6 separate regions of the Homo sapiens genome follow, and all the other regions are linked to region 1. The links are contacts of gene promoters, found by promoter capture Hi-C in blood cells and fetal thymus (Javierre and others, 2016). All regions are on one chromosome and are shown on one strand. Each heading gives the region's core, a stretch centred on a gene start or on the middle of the fragment in contact. The rest is flanking DNA. Distances are from core to core; before and after follow the strand shown. Region 1 holds the start of COL4A4 (collagen type IV alpha 4 chain). Region 2 overlaps NYAP2 (neuronal tyrosine-phosphorylated phosphoinositide-3-kinase adaptor 2). Region 3 overlaps LOC105373914 (a long non-coding RNA gene). Region 4 overlaps LOC105373914 (a long non-coding RNA gene). Region 5 overlaps LOC105373914 (a long non-coding RNA gene). Region 6 overlaps LOC646736 (a long non-coding RNA gene).

Region 1 (2,602 bases), core at 29-2,528:
ATTTAAATAAATCCAGTTTCACTCAAATTCCAAGTCAAAAATCAAATCAAAGTGTCAGATTGCTTAAATGATTCTAACCTGAGTTCGATTTCTAAGGTGCTCTTAATTTTTCAGTGATAGCATTTGCTTTTCCCAACAATAGCAAAGGAAAACTGGAGGGCAAGTTTTGCAAGGAAGAAACTGAGCCCCAGAGAGGTCAGGGTTTAGTGTGACGTCCCAGCTAGGAAGTGGCGGCTGGGACTCCCTGCAGGTGTCTCCTGCCAGCCCTCTGTGCGCTGGGCCAAGCTGCTTGATTTGATTCACCAGCGTGACACCGTGCATCTCCACATCCGGTGTTCTCACGTATCATCCCTGGCGATTATCTATGTGTCTATTTTTTAATTTACTGACCTCTGGAGGCCTGTCCCCGCCATCCCTGACTCCTAGGCACTGGACAAGCCCCCTCCTCGCCTCTTCCCCCAGCCCCGCGCATTCCACCTGTTCCGGGGCATCCCCGCTTGCTCCCTTCCGCTCGCTGCCTGTCCCGGGACCTGCGTGAAGCCCTCAGCCTCGCCACTAGCCCGGCAGCCGCTCCACTACCGCGCCGCTGCGGGTGGGGCCAGCGCGTCCCCCGGACGCGTGGAGGAGGGATGGAAGTGCGGGGGTGGGGGTCGCGCAGCCCCCACTCACCTTGCTGGCTGCGGGCGCCGCCGCCAGGAGCACCAGCAGGAGCGGCAGCAGGAGCACCTGCGGCCTGGGGGCGGTCCGGGCGCTCATGGTGGGCGCGCGCTCAGAGCCTGGGCGAGTCCGGGGACCCTCAGGCTCTCAGGCCACCGCGTCTCCTGCGCAGCGCGGCTCTGGGAGCCCGGCTGGAAAGCTCGCCTCGCCACTCGGCCGGGGCGGGTTTTGTAGGGCTCGGTCGCGCGGTTCGTCCCTCCCCACCCAGGCTTTTTGGTTGTGGCTTCAAGGGAGGGAAGACGTGGCTCAGGTCCCGCCCTCATACCCCCTCCCTCCCAACTTACCAGGCAGTGTCCCTTCTACCCGGGCATCGTGCCCAGGAGGCGAGAAAGGGCTGGGCGCCTGAGGGGCAGGTGGGCGCGGATCCAGGGTAAGGGGTTAAGGAGGTGATGCTCCCAAGGTCCGGGGGCCCAGGCGGGGAAGTGGGGTGCGGTCGGAGGTGGGGCGTTTGGGGGTGTGCGGTGGGGAGGTGGCTGCGCGGTGGGGAGGTGGCTGCGCAGGGTGGAGGGAGTGGCCAGCGGCCCTGCCCAGATTAAGCGGGAGGCGCGCCGGGCGTCTGCACTCGGGAGGCCCCGCTTGTTCCCCGCGCCCGCGGCGGTCCGCGTTCCCCGCCTCCAGCCCGCCTCCAACTTGCGGCCGCCGGGCTTGGCTGCGAGAGCGCCGCGAAGAGGCAGCGGGGCGCGGGTGGATTGGGGCTGGAGGTGCGCGTCCCGTGGGGTGGCAAGGCGGCAGCTCCTGGCGCTGCGGGCGTCCCCACAGGTAAGGCGCCCATAGGTGGGGCAACCGCTGTCCCGGGGCCCCGGCACCTGCCTGGGAGGGGCAGTGGAGGGAGCGTGGCATTCAAGGGGTGGTGGCGGGCCCAGCTGGGGAGTTGTGGCCCGGGGGTCACCAGAGGAGAGCGCGTCTGGCTCCTGGGCTTGTCTGCCTGGGCTTTAACTGGGTGCTGTGTGTTTTGATTAATTTGGAGGCTCGAGTTACCGGCCTGGCAGTCGGGGCACTCCAAAATGCCAAGAGAAAGAGGCAGCTGAGGAGAAAGAGAAAGCCCATCTTATTCTCCGCTGAGTTGAACTGCTTTTCAGGCCAAATCTTATCTGCGGAAATGCAGGGCAAAACAAGACTCAGCTCTGGTCAGGGTGCGCTCTTCCTGGGGGTGGCCTGCGATGCAAATGTGCCAGGGCACGGTCCTCCAGCCGGCTCTCGCCGTTTCCTGTGCTACGGACCACACTGGCTCTGGTAAAGCAATTAGACTGTTTCTCAGAAGAATGTTGTGAAATGCATAAAATACAATTAAATCAGAATCAGTTTTATTGGAATGCAATTATGGAAGTCCTCAAGTCGTGATATAGTAACTAACACAGGTGCATCATCATTATTGCATTAAATAGCTTGATTTAACAGCAGGCCGATTAAGCAACAGTAATGTCAAAGTAGTGATGTCTGCAAATGGTATTTTGAGATAATAGCCCAAACTGAAATGTGACATGAAAATACCGGTGGGTGCAAATTATCAAGAACTGCCAATACTACTGTGCTCTGTTGCCTGTGCTCATAAGGGAAGGACATGTTGAACTTCTGTGACATGTTACTAAAAGTAAAGATGCAACTTATTTTCCTATGTGAGTTTCCTATACAGATCACCTGAATTCCATCCTCAGGTTAAGAATCTTTGCTTTGGAACAGTGTTGCTGATATTTGCTGCAATTGGCTTCAGACACCAAGTATGATCATGCAGTTGGTCACTGATTTTAGGGAACCACTTGCTTGCAGTTAAATTTGGGATCTATTGGTATCTTAGAACTTTGTAGCCATGCAGGTAGGCAAAACCCTAACAGTGAATGAAGACACTCCTCCCATTCTTTTTATTTTGACTATAGCATGAATCTTA
Region 2 (2,602 bases), core at 41-2,540, 1.5 Mb after region 1:
ACTTTCAGGGATGAAGGCTGGTTTCAACTACCATGCTGAACAGTGACAATTAATAGCTTATTTCAAGCTCCTAATAGAATGCACATCCCTTTTAAAATATGTATGTGTGTGTTTGATGTTCAATTTTCAAGCTGGGCGCAGTGGCTCACACCTGTAATCCCAGCACTTTGGGAGGCTGAGGCAGCAGATCACTTGAGGTCAGGAGTTCCAGACCAGCCTGGCCAACTTGGCAAAACCCCATCTCTGCTAAAAATACAAAAATTAGCCAGGCACGGTGGTGTACACCTGTAATCCCGGCTACTCGGGAGGCTGAGGCAGGAGAATCGCTTAAGCCCAGGAGGCAGAGGTTGCAATGAGCCAAGATCGTGCCACTGCACTCCACCCTGGGTGTCAGAGCAAGACTCCATCTCAAAAATAGACAGACAAAAAAAAGTTGATTTTCTATTTTCTGAGGAGACAGTATAAGATGAATAAAATGGATAAGATGATGTGGTTTTTATCACTTATTATATGTGAGATCAGAACAAGTTACCTAACCTTTCCTTTTTTTAACCTGTAAAATGAAAATAATAAAATAGGTTTCTTGAGAAGATTAAATGTCCTAATTTGGTATCTACTGAAAAGTGGACACTTCTAAAAATATAAGCTTTTCTACCCCAGTAGACAATGAACTCTTTAAAGACAGGGACTCCATTATTAATCTTCATATTCTTAGCTTTTAACACAGTAAAATTATGCAATAAATGTTCATAAAAAATGAATGAATAAACAAATGGATCACACTAAGTGTAACATTTTCTGAGTATTTTCAGGAAAGGTGCTTTTGAAATCCTTGATTTCATGAATGAGTTCATTCCACTTTGGCTCAACTGAATCCAACAATACCTCAAATTGTACAAAGTTAACAAAAATATTGCCTGGGCTTTATAAACCCCAGGAGGCATCTAACCTGAAACTCAGTCCTCAATGCCATGTGAGTCACACCTGGGTGTTCAATGACTGAGAACGTCTCTTTTTCAAACTCTGGACATCAATCCTTGGCCCTTTGGCTGAAGTTGAGACACAAATCAATGCTCCCTAAGCCTTAGTATGCATTCAACCAAGGAAGTATGCAACTCCCTTGGGAGTTTATTAAAATGCAAATTCTTAGGCACCAATGTCAGAGAATCTGACTTTAATTCTAGATAAGGTGGGTCTTAAGCAGTTATAGTTTTATTAGGCTTCCTAGTGATTTTGATGGATGATAGGCTGAGCACCACATTTTGAGAGATACCCAAATTCTAGTTAATGATAAGAGGTTATACTAACTCAAGAGGGCGCAGAAACGTTCTCTCAAGATCTGACCTTTCCCGTTCTCTGTCCATACGTACTGGGTACAACATGCAAGTAAAGAATCAATTGAGATTTTGAGAGAAGTCAGACAGATTTTTGTCTTAGCAAATTATTTCAAGTACAGTCTATCCATTTTGCATATATTTATAAATGTATCCATGTATCTCTATGCATATTTACACATATGTGCATATATTATATATTTATGATTAAATCACTGAATCATTTTAAGGTCTCTTAGTTAACATATTACTTAAGAAATAAAATTGCAAAAGTGTCTTAAAGAATATATGTGTCAATAATGTCATTCAAGAAAAAGTGGTGGCCTAAAGTTAATAAGGTGCCATATATTGAGATTTTTGATTGATCTAAAGGAATTATCCCAAAACATTCTTCAGTGACATCATAAAAGTTCTAAGATAAATTGGCAAGTTATATGCACCTTCTATCTTGTGACTTTGGAGAGAAGGATTGTCACAATCTATAAAATAAACATAGCAGTATCAACAATGTAATAATACCAACAACCATGATTTATTGCACATAACCATGTTCCAGGCACTCTATGAGCCCTGGACATATCTCAATTCCCTTAAAGCTTAATAACTCTTAAGCATGCCCTATTGATATATTTCAGATAATAAAATGAAGCTTGAAGAGATTAAGTTACACGTATAGCATCACATGCCTAATAGAAGACAGAATTAGAATTGCAATTCAAGACTAAATATATCACATGCTAAATAAAAACTGCACTCAGTATTATAGCAGATTGCTTCACAGCTAATTATGAGTAAAGTAGTTCTTATTAGAAACACATACACACAAGCACAATTACTTCCCTTCATATAGCCCATGACATGGGAAGTGCACTTGATCAAACAAAGGCTGTTAAGTTTGCTGCTGGAAGATAAGAGGACTTATAAACTGTTAATCAAAACTTTGATGGATAAATGAAAATTTGACCTTTCTATTTGTCATTGTTGTCATCACTACCATTGTCTTCGTCTTCATTATTATCAAGATCCTAGGCACAATAACCACAGTGTTTCCACACAGTGGGCAAGGCACTGTGTAATCACTATGTCTGCTCCATCTTATCTCACCTCCAAATAGCTTACTCACTGGTAGAACCTCCATATACTTGTGTACTGAAAATACATTGCCCACTATGGGTACAGCATCAAAAGAAGTCCCTCTAAAGGTAAATTTTTAAAATTTTATTTCATCAGCCACACTGCAGATCATTTCAGTAAACCCTGTTTTCCTC
Region 3 (2,602 bases), core at 30-2,529, 1.5 Mb after region 1:
CCATAAACTCTTAAACTTCACCTATGGCTTTGGTTTTTATAGATAAGTAAAATGTTTTCCACAGTGCCTGTATATAAACTCCACAGTGCCTACATAATCTGGCCCCTGCCTCTCTCCCTGACCTCATCTTTGTGATGACCTGTATGGTTCCCCAACACATCAAGTGTACTTTATCTCAGAAACTTTACAATTCCCCAGATATCTAAAATACTCCCTCAAGTATTTGCATAGTTGACTATTCATTGTTTGTATCCCATCTCACCTTCTTAGATCTAGTGAATGATGCATTGATAAAGCAGAAAGAAAAATCTATGAGAAGTCATCAGAAAATAAGGTGGCCAATCAATTTTTGGCCTTACTATTTCCTTGTACTAATTTTTCTTCATTTTTATGTCTTGACTTGTCTTACTTTCCTTTCTAAACCACTCTGATGAAGTTCTTCAGTGGTGTATTTTACAAAGTCCATATATTTATTTGAAAAGAGTCTACACATTCAAATAAAAATGATGTAAACTTCTTTCAAAGATTCCACCCAACAATATTTGATATGAATTACGTTTTCCAGAACTAGATAATCTTAATCTTATTTTTTAGCTTCATAACATCCCTACCCTTGTGTCTTTCCCCGGCAAACTTCATACCCTCATGTTGAAGTTTGTATTGCAGGCTACCCTCTCCTCATCTTCCAGTTTTTCAATCTCTACCTTGCTTATGACTGTTGCAATATTTGATGACAGAAACTTGCCTCTCTTGCATACAATCATTTGAATTTGAGACCTTTGAAGAGTGATCCTGGAGTCTGGGAGGAGGCAGGGGTTTCTAGGGACTTATATGTAAGATACTGGGTTGATAGGTTTCAGTAAACAACAGCGGGATGGTTTGGAACTTGGACAATGTAATTGGCGTTTGAAGGCTATGAGAAGTCAAGAAAATTTTAGAGTAGAACAAACATGTGAATTCTAGTTTCAGAAAAAGTCTAGAGGATCCTCAGGCAAGCAGACCATTTTGAGAGAATTATATTCGTGGCTATCTAATGATCTCTAAAGTGGTTTCAGGCCTCTGTGTCATTTTCTTCATAGTCTTCCTATTGCAAAGGAAAAGCATATGTTTACCAAGGAAGCAGTAAGTCTGTGTGTGTAACCTCTGACAAACAGGTGTCAAACCCCAAGGGAATGAGGAGAATGGGCAAAATAATGCCTCTACTAGCACTGTATAATCTTCTAGTCTCAGAGCAGGCTCCTTGCAGCCGTTTGAATACTTACGAGTTTTGCCACATCTGAGTAGCACTTGAACATCATACCTTATAGTCCTTAAGGTGAAGGTTGGGTTAAGTTGATGCTACCAACTTCAACATTGATATAAATAATTATGTCCATTATATAAGCTCAAAGATAAGTGAGGTTGCCGTCTTTTATTCATGACCATAGCCTGATTACTGATCACCATGGCTGGTATTACAACAAGTATTCAAGAAATATTTATTCAGTGAATGAAATAAAGTAGTTTAATATGTTAACTTTATATTTATGTAAAAAATTCTTAACTATTAAAATTAAAAAGTGTGGATTTTTTTATATTGAAGTGTTATGAGTAACACCTTTCAAGGACCCTTGTGAGAAAATATTGCTAGAGCATTGAGGCACAAGTGCCCAGCGGGATGGGACATTTTAACTTACTACCAAGTCTCTCTCTTTCTTTTTTCCCTTTCCTTAATAAACGTGATATCATATGGTATATTCACAAAGAAAGACAAAAAAATTTAGATTAATGCATTCTTTAAAACCAAATACCTCCAGAAGGCAGCAATAGTTACCCTAAGGAAAATCAACAAGCAGAATCAATTTAAAAGCCAGCTTACTATTTCACCCTAGCAAACTGATTTGTTCTTCATTGAAACCAGCTAGAAGATCGATAAGAAATTATTAAGGACTAAGATTTTAGCAAGCATAAAGTCCTCTACACTGATCTGTAGTACCTATGAAGTTTGTTGTATTGTAGAGAAAAATACTGCTTTTTCAGTGACGAGTATATATACCTAAGTTAGATGGGTCACTTCCATTCAGGCTACATGGAACTGCATAGTGATTAAAATGTCTTTGAGTATCTGTATATGATGAATAGCAAACTAATACAAATTAATTTAAATGAGAGTCTATGTTACATTGGTTTGGTTTTTGATTCAGATAAGCCTGGTTTGAATTTCCACAATCAATTACTATTGTGTATTAGTTTGGGAAAGTTTTCTAAACCTCAGCATCTTTACCCAGAAAATGAACATATTCATAGGGTTGAGGTAAGAATTTGAAAAGATGTCTTAAAAACTTAGTTCAGTGTTTTGCATAAAGTAAGAAATAAATTGTAGCGGTCTTACTATTGTTATTATTAGTCTTACTATTAAAATGAATTATAAACCCATAAGTAGTGACACTTAGGGTATCATTGTATGCATTTTGTGAACTAAAATTATTCCTGATTGGTTTTATCTCATGCTCTAACTTGTGTTTCATTCTCGTTAAAATTCTCACACATTTCTAATGTATGTCACCTTGCTATATTTGCACATTAATTACAATTGCTTTATTTGGATAAAAAGCGGAGTTTA
Region 4 (2,602 bases), core at 38-2,537, 1.4 Mb after region 1:
GCATTGTAATAGGGGCTTTTTGGGATAGGGAGGCTCAGAAGTGGTCTGACTGTCTTAACAAGCCTTTTCCATCCAACAAACCGTCCATTCTCTTGTTAGAGGTTAACTGACCTCAGTAGAGCCTGCACAACCTCTATCTTTAGAGTTGAGCTAACATGAAAGTAACCAATGCCTCAGTAATGCTGATTCTTGAAACAACAAAGCAAAATGAGGTGGGAAAGGAACAACTTCAACTCATTGACTGACATTTAACTTGCATTCACTTTGAACCCAGCTGTCTCCCAGTCATTAAGGAAAACATTTTCCTAGAGTAAAGGATTAGAAGGACTTCATCCCCACTGCTATTATTATTTAATTCTGAGTTCCAGTTTACAATTTATTTCTAAAAAACACAAAACAAATAACATTGGTATAGAACTTCATACTGCATTTTTTCATGTACTTTTTTTTCTTTTCAGTGCTATATGATATTTTGAAAAGTAATTATTAACCTTCCCAGATTAGAAATTTTAAAACTTTAAAGGTCAAAGGAGGTTAAAATTTTAAAGGCCAAAGGAGATCAAAAGAAGTGCCCCAGATCACCAAATTACTAGAAAGGGGAGAGTTAATGTAACTTGAGTTTTCTGCCAGCAGCAACTAAAATTCATATAACACAAGCAGACAATAAATAAATGGGGAAAATTTGAGTTTCTCTGAAACAATATAAACCCAAATAAGCCTGTTGGCAATCTGCTCACATGAAAGAAAAATAAAAATAATATGTTTCTAAGACCTAGAGAGAATTCATTCAACAAATATTTATTGAGCCTTTATCATATGCCCACTTATTTTCCCAATGCCCAACAGCCTTGGCCTACTTGACAGCCTTTTTATAAAGTGGAATCCACATACCATTAACCCCTTTAGAGCCTGTGAAAAATGCCTGTTGTATCAGAATCCATAGGAGGAATATGCACCTTTAATATGTGGTCTAGGTGGTTTTTATGGATGATAAAGCTTAAAAATCCTGATTTAAGAATCTCGACTCAGATTCCCAAGTAGATTCAATGCCTCCTTTTCTTATTTCCAGTACACAAGGTAAAAACTTTCAGAGAAATGAGTGCCACTTTCTTTATCCTTCTATTATTTGCATTGAAATAATATTTTCACTCAAATAGTTCTCCTCTGAAACAATGAAATGATAGGTGCTATAATTCAGAGCCATAGAATCTAGTCACTAAACACAGCACTATCTGTCTGAGTTTGTTGGAGAAATCTACGAGGGTGGCCCAACTGCAAGATTTTTTTCTTTGGCAGCAATCCCATCAGTTTGTCTGACTAAAGTTTATGCCTATATTTTAATGACTCATATTCTCCTTCTGCTCTGTCCCATGAATTACTTGGCAGAATTTCTGCTGATTTGGAACATCACTTGTCAAGGAGAAGGTATCAGATTGTGTGTGTGTATATTTCAAAATGAGCAGATGCAAACGTCTGAACGATTTGCTCTTTTGCAGACCTCTCAGGATGACCTAATTTTCCTAAAGTCTTAAATTTAAAATCATAACATGCACTTCATGTTCTTTAACATAAGCTTTAACCTTTAAAATTTTCAAAGAATAAAATGACAAAATAACAAAATTGACAGGGAACTAGGGTGACAAAAATGCTGTGTACATCAAAGGAGGAAAGACGAAGGGAACTTTTACTGTTTAGCTCATGACGATCACTACTCCCTGACCTGTGAATTCTGCCCTCCAGAGATCTACTTCCCCTGGGAATGAATCCTGCATAAAGACCCATGTATGGAAAGCAAGGTGAGAACTTGGATCAAGAACTCATGAAGTATATAAAAAGATCAAAGCCACACAATATGTCTCTGACAAAAGTGCTAGACTATTTAACTATTGTTCATTAATAATATTAATCTCAAGTCCTTTTTTGCAATCTGAAATATTGCCTTCTTTCCACTTCAGAGCTTTAGTTATATGTCAGCTAGCCCCTTCACTCTTTGAGGTGTGGAGTGGGGCGGTGAAGTTTAGAAAGGGAGGGCTGAGTGGGAAAAAAAAAAGATGGGGGAGTTCCTCAAACCACAGGATGTAGAATCTTTTAGAACATGGAGAAGGGACATTTTCTAAAGTTCTATGTTCAATGCCAGGAATTTAAATTGCATCCTGCTATAATTGAAAATGTGTATGTCTAACCTAGGGTTTCTTAACCTCAGCGCTATTGACATTGGAGGTGGATAACTCTGTTGTGGAGCCTGACTTGTGTGTTATAGAATGTTTAGTAACATCTCTGGCCTCTTCCTCCAGATGCCAGTTGTCCTGTCCTCCATTAAGACAACCAAAATGTCTCAAGACATTGCCAGAGGTCCCCTGGGGGACAAAATCATACCCTGTGGAGAACCATTGGGCTAACTGGCCTGGATCTGCCACATGGGTGACCCTTCACATGTGAGGCAGTACCCAGCCTCCATCCGGCCCACCTTCCACCCTCAGGGAGTACCTGCTGCCCACTCCACCACTGCTGGTTGAGTCTTCCCTGCTGTTGGGCTCCAGCTGGCATCTTCTTCATGCAGCTAGTGCAGGCGAAACTTCTCAATAAAAGTTGGAGGTGGTGA
Region 5 (2,602 bases), core at 40-2,539, 1.4 Mb after region 1:
GTATTTTCTAATTTTCTAGTGCAGCTCACTATGTATACACACATATATATGTATCATATTTATGTTGTATATATGATATATATGTGTATCATATATGTACCTACATATATGTAAATATATTCTATAGGTACATGCTCATCTATGTGTGTGTATATGTCTCTAGTAGGTAAAGATTATTATGTTTTTTGTTCAAATTTTCTTTATATTTATTATTTTCTAACCTATCAGTTACTAACAGAAATTCTGAAAGAATTTTAAGAACTGTTTACCATACCCCTATGATTTCATCCCCAACCAATCAACATTTCCCATTTCCTAGTCCCCTGCCTACAAAACTATCCTTGAAAACCCCTAACCTGCGAGCCTTACGGGAAATTGATGTGAGTAAAATCTCCGTCTCCTTCATGGCCTAGCTAACCTAGCCTCAATTAAATTCTTTCTTTATTTTAATACCATGGTCTGTGCAGTGGGCAGGAAGAACCTGTTGGGCAATTACATGGGCACCTAATGTAAAGTTAGTCTCCATGACAACTCATGGTGCAGGCTTGCCTGCTCAGTAAAGGCAATCTTTCCAAGATCCCCACTTTGGGAAGAGGTCTCAGTTCTGTTTCCTTGCCTTTTCTCCAGCTCAAACTTATTTCTCTTCTCCCTTCACAGGGGTTAAAATTTTAAGTACTAGAATAAGGGCTTCTCATGGCATAATCCCTTGATAAGCCACTTCAGCCCAACTCATAAAATTAAGCTTTCTTCTTCATTTGTACTTATTTGGAATCTCCAAAGCTATTTTTTATCAGTTTCTCCAGCATTTTTATGTGTTTTGTGTAGAATTAGAGTTTTGCCTTTGCCAGTGCCACCATTTCATCCAAACTGGAACTCTTCAGCCAATTCTTTAAGAATGATCATTCATTGCTGCCTACTATGCAGGAGAAGATAAATAACAGATGATTGCTGTCCTCACAATCTAGGGGAAGAGAGAGAGATTTGCCCTGAATTGTGTGTCGAGGAGCTTCATGGAAAGGCCTGAGGAGGCACAAAGAAATAAGTCATTAGCTGGACTGTGAGGATTGAAGAAGACTTCCCCAAAGAGAGATTTGAAATGACCTCTACAGGGTGACAAGGAGCCCCAGGGTGGAAAAACCAAGAGGAAGACATTGTCTTAAGAAGACTGAATGTGTAGCCTCAGGATGTCATATCAACACAGAGGTGAGAGTTGAGGCTGTAAGACCAATGAACATGGTCATGCAGAAAGCATGGGGTAGAAGGAGAAAAATTAATGACATGCAACTTAGGAGAAACAAAGTTGAACAGGAACCATCAAAGACCCTCATGTTCTATGGTTGAACAAAAACCTCTGTTGAAAGGAAGCTCCAATTTTGAGGGAAATTACAAGCAAAAGAGAAGGCCTTTGTGGGCCCAAATTAAGAAATGAACTTTCCTATTTGAGCAAAACGTCTTTTAATCTTCTATTCTCAATAAGGTGGTTTTAACCTTCTCATAACATTAATTGCAATGCTTAACTAGAGTTAAGGCTTATAGAAACCTCCTACATAATAAATCATAACTAAAGCTAGCAGAATATCACAGGTTTGGTTACTGCATGACAATTTCTATAATGGGCATTTTATTATTTTATTTTCTACAAGGCTGGAAATGTACTCACCTTTATTTTACCACATACACATCCCATGATCATCCAAAATGTCACTGTGAGCAGTCAGCAAAGAAAGGAAAAAACTAAACACGCATCTACTGAAACAAGAAAATGCCTAAAGGGTCTCTTAAACATCCTAAATCAGCATAATCTTCTCCTTTATCTTCAGAATTCCACAAGCTTCTATTATAACATAGACTCCTCTTGATCCCCTAAAGGTTTACAATCAGTCTAAAGTTTCCTCATTCTAAGCCCCAAAAGGGAATTTTACTTTTTAACTATCTGCACTAGACAAAAAGTTAATTCAAGGAATTGACTTCTGTGGCCTCAAGAATTGAGTAATAAACCCTCTTGTATCCATTAAGATTCTTTGAGAGTGAGAGTTCCCCCAAAGCACCAAAGGGCAATTATTGTAAATCTACCTGGACAGAGCTTTCAGCATAGGTAAAATTTAATTCTCAGCTTACTCAGAGGTGAAAAATGGCCTTACTGAGAAGGATGCCTTTTCTGAGACTCTGCTGGTTCCATATACAGCACCCACATTATACTACACTCCCTCTGACAACTAGCACAATTTGAAAACCACGATTTTCCCTGAACATATGTTATTCATGGTTCTCATGCAGCAGCGTTTACTACACAATAGGTACTAAAAAATGTTTATCCAGGAGAAAGCATGAATAACTGAGTGAAATACAAATCTTTTAGTTGAACAATAATTGAAGATGAAGAAGCAGTTTCAGGGAAGTTGGTGGTGGAACTGAGTCTAGGATGGACGTCTATATCTGACTTACCTTCATCACAGTCTGCTTCAAATGAAGGACAAACTTCAGTAGTGAAGGCGCATTGAATTTAGCATGTTCAGAACTTAGCTCATTCAATCTCAGACTTTAGCAGTTAAGCAAACACCTGAGAAGCTGATTTAAATTAAAATTAACTGATTTCATACCC
Region 6 (2,602 bases), core at 76-2,575, 1.0 Mb after region 1:
AAGGTCTTTGATAAAAATAATAATATGCTGTTTCTTGGCCTATTATTATTTTTAAAAAGAGATAGTTGGCCCAATCTGTGAGTCAAGGTATTTTTAGCCTTTTAAAAATATGGACATACTTATAGTAACTTATTTCATATTTTTTCTACTAAAATGATATTTCAGACCCAAATATACAAATTGTATTCTCAAAGCTTTTTTTTTTTTTTTTAAATGATGTCCTAAAGATGGCAACAAAAGAAACTGGGGACTACTAGAGAGGAGAGATTGGGAGGGGGACAAAGGTTGAAAAACTAACCATTGGGTGCTATGCTCAGTACATGGGTAATGGGATTAATTGTGCCCCAAACCTCAGCATTATGTAATATATCCAGATAACAAACCTGCACATGTACCACTTGAATCTAAAATAAAAGTAGAAATTATTAAAAAAAAATAGATGTCCATAGCTGGAATGATAGGAAAGATACAGAACACCAAGTTGGGACAGAGGACCAGAGCATGAATGTTACTTAAGTCCGAAATAAAGAAAAGGTTCTCTTGTGTTGTTGTTTTGCTTAGACAAAGGGAACTCTAGGGAAAAAAGGATCATGACAATTAAAGAGACCCCAAAGAGCAGATGCAAACTGAATTTTACCATAAGTCAATCAACTGGGCCTAGGTTGATCTTAGAGCTCATTAAACTCCTTTTCTGGGATCAGCTTATGGAAGGCCAATCCTGTGGCCACCATTCCCCTTTGAGAGCCCATCACGCAGCATTCTGATGGCCTGGTGTTGTGTTGCAGAGGCATGTTGGAGGGTGACTGGTGGCAAAATGCAGTACACAGATGATTAACAATTGTTTGCCATGGACTGGCCTCATGTTGAAGGTGGTTAAGGGATAGGCATACATGAAACATGGTCAAAAGCTTCCACCAAACTTCTTTTAGTTTCTCTTCTCTCAGCCTCACCTAATGTATAATATTTTAAAGCTTTCTTTGTGAAAAATAAAAATGAATTAGCAGTAGAAAAATCATGAACAGTATTTGGTGAAAGTTCTAAATGTGGTTAAGAATAATTTAATTCAAATAGTAAATTTCCTGGTCTTACATTTCTTCTTCCTTATTCTGACAAAAACAAACAAACAAACAAACAAACAACAACAACAACAACAAAAACCCTCAACTTTCCTTTGGGAACCCATTCTTCTCATTTTTTTTAGCCAGTTATTGGCTGGGATGGCAGTGATGGCCAGGGTGGGGCATAGCACCCAGGCTTGGCCAATGAGAATTCCCAATCCCCCTTGTAGTCTCATGTCTCCCACGTGGTTCTAATCATAGTGAATCTGTGTTTCTGTGCTGTATGTACTGGGAATGGATGCTCTCTTATTCTGTTGGACTTAAATTTCAGAGAATGAATATAGAAAGCTACTGCTAGCTTCTTCCCATCACATGTAGCCTAAAGAGGTAGACAACACCACAGAGAGATGGGTAGAGACAAGCTAAACCAAAAGAAGGAGAGAAAATTCGTTGTAATTGGCATCATTTTAAAACAGGGATTTCTCAATCATATGTGCCAATAAATTATCTTTTTCTTTCAGTTTGAGATTATTTTCTTGCAAGTGATTGAATAAATAGCTGAATAAATACTGTATATTTCTCATTTTGAAGAAACAACTATACTACTGTACTGAAGCTTTTATTGACATTCTAACAGTATGTATTTGGGAAATTTATCAGGAACATTTTTATTAGGTGTGTTTCAAGGGAGAAATTAAGTAAAATAAATAAACACTTCTTTGGAGTGCCAGTTTTGGTATATATTAAATTCTGGTATCTATTCTCAGCAAAATACATATCAACAGGTAAGTCAGTACATACCCAAGGGAATATTTCATAGTTTTTCCTGTTTTGAAAATAAGTATTTGGCTGGTCAAAGGGAAACTGAATAAAAGAATTAGAAGGCCCGGCACAGTGGCTCATGCCTGTAATCCCAGCACTTTGGGAGGCTGAGGTGCGTGGATCACTTGAGGTCAGGAGTTCAAGACCAGGCTGGCCAACATGGTGAAACCCTGTCTCTACTAAAAATACAAAAATTAGCCAGATGTGATGACATACACATGTAATCCTAGCTACGGGGGAGGCTGAGGCATGAGAATTGCTTGAACCTGGGAGGTGGATGTTGCAGTGAGCCAAGATCATGCCACTGCACTCCGTGCTGGGCAACTGAGTGAGACCCCATCTCAAAAAACTCAAAAAAGAGTTAAAATAAATCACTGTCTATTGTGCCAAAGAGCTGTTGAAGTCATCATTCTTAGAAGAATAGACAGATGGTATTTCAAGGCTTGATTTATAGCAATCATATTTAATCACAACTTAATGGTCCATAAATATATGTGCTGTTATCAGTGGAACTGTTTCAGAAAACAGACATAATCTTAACTTTCTTTGTAAAGGATCAGCTAGTAAACATGTTAGGCTTTGCAGGTCATACAGTCTTTGTTGTAACTATTCAACTCCGCCACTGTTTTGTGAATGCAGCAATAGGCAATATGCAAATGATTGACCATGACTGTGTTCTAAAAACACTTTATTTATGGACACTGAGAGCTTAATTTCATGTT

Evidence for each region. The method cuts DNA at HindIII sites, captures the fragments that hold promoters and counts their contacts. A CHiCAGO score of 5 or more calls a contact.
Region 2: a fragment that was not itself captured here is called in contact with the fragment with the promoter of COL4A4 in region 1 in 5 of 17 cell types (M0 macrophages, M1 macrophages, M2 macrophages and 2 more); the score reaches 13.2 in M0 macrophages.
Region 3: a fragment that was not itself captured here is called in contact with the fragment with the promoter of COL4A4 in region 1 in 5 of 17 cell types (M2 macrophages, M1 macrophages, monocytes and 2 more); the score reaches 12.2 in M2 macrophages.
Region 4: a fragment that was not itself captured here is called in contact with the fragment with the promoter of COL4A4 in region 1 in 4 of 17 cell types (M0 macrophages, monocytes, M2 macrophages and 1 more); the score reaches 6.1 in M0 macrophages.
Region 5: a fragment that was not itself captured here is called in contact with the fragment with the promoter of COL4A4 in region 1 in 1 of 17 cell types (M0 macrophages); the score reaches 5.2 in M0 macrophages.
Region 6: a fragment that was not itself captured here is called in contact with the fragment with the promoter of COL4A4 in region 1 in 1 of 17 cell types (fetal thymus); the score reaches 6.4 in fetal thymus.

What each region holds. Positions count from the first base shown.
Region 1 is chr2:227,162,881-227,165,482 of GRCh38, reverse strand. COL4A4 (collagen type IV alpha 4 chain) reads left to right here and starts at 1,278. Exons shown (of 48, transcript NM_000092.5): 1 at 1,278-1,476. It overlaps COL4A3 (collagen type IV alpha 3 chain), which reads right to left and starts at 859. Exons shown (of 52, transcript NM_000091.5): 1 at 670-859. The coding sequence starts at 756. RefSeq lists silencers at 626-805, 1,026-1,405 and enhancers at 1,676-1,775, 1,050-1,951. The HindIII fragment of the contact is 7,891 bases long and covers 1-2,602 here.
Region 2 is chr2:225,686,569-225,689,170 of GRCh38, reverse strand. All of the region lies in intron 7 of NYAP2 (neuronal tyrosine-phosphorylated phosphoinositide-3-kinase adaptor 2), which reads right to left. All of the region lies in intron 5 of LOC105373914 (a long non-coding RNA gene), which reads left to right. Among named protein-coding and RNA genes, the nearest start is that of NYAP2, 290 kb to the right of the region's middle. The HindIII fragment of the contact is 1,284 bases long and covers 649-1,932 here.
Region 3 is chr2:225,706,447-225,709,048 of GRCh38, reverse strand. The region is part of intron 5 of LOC105373914 (a long non-coding RNA gene); the gene reads left to right. Among named protein-coding and RNA genes, the nearest start is that of NYAP2, 310 kb to the right of the region's middle. The HindIII fragment of the contact is 2,983 bases long and covers 1-2,602 here.
Region 4 is chr2:225,734,775-225,737,376 of GRCh38, reverse strand. LOC105373914 (a long non-coding RNA gene) reads left to right here. Exons shown (of 7, transcript XR_007088110.1): 4 at 1,741-1,796. Among named protein-coding and RNA genes, the nearest start is that of NYAP2, 340 kb to the right of the region's middle. The HindIII fragment of the contact is 577 bases long and covers 999-1,575 here.
Region 5 is chr2:225,758,545-225,761,146 of GRCh38, reverse strand. All of the region lies in intron 2 of LOC105373914 (a long non-coding RNA gene), which reads left to right. Among named protein-coding and RNA genes, the nearest start is that of NYAP2, 360 kb to the right of the region's middle. The HindIII fragment of the contact is 1,089 bases long and covers 745-1,833 here.
Region 6 is chr2:226,161,386-226,163,987 of GRCh38, reverse strand. The region is part of intron 2 of LOC646736 (a long non-coding RNA gene); the gene reads right to left. Among named protein-coding and RNA genes, the nearest start is that of MIR5702, 500 kb to the left of the region's middle. The HindIII fragment of the contact is 703 bases long and covers 974-1,676 here.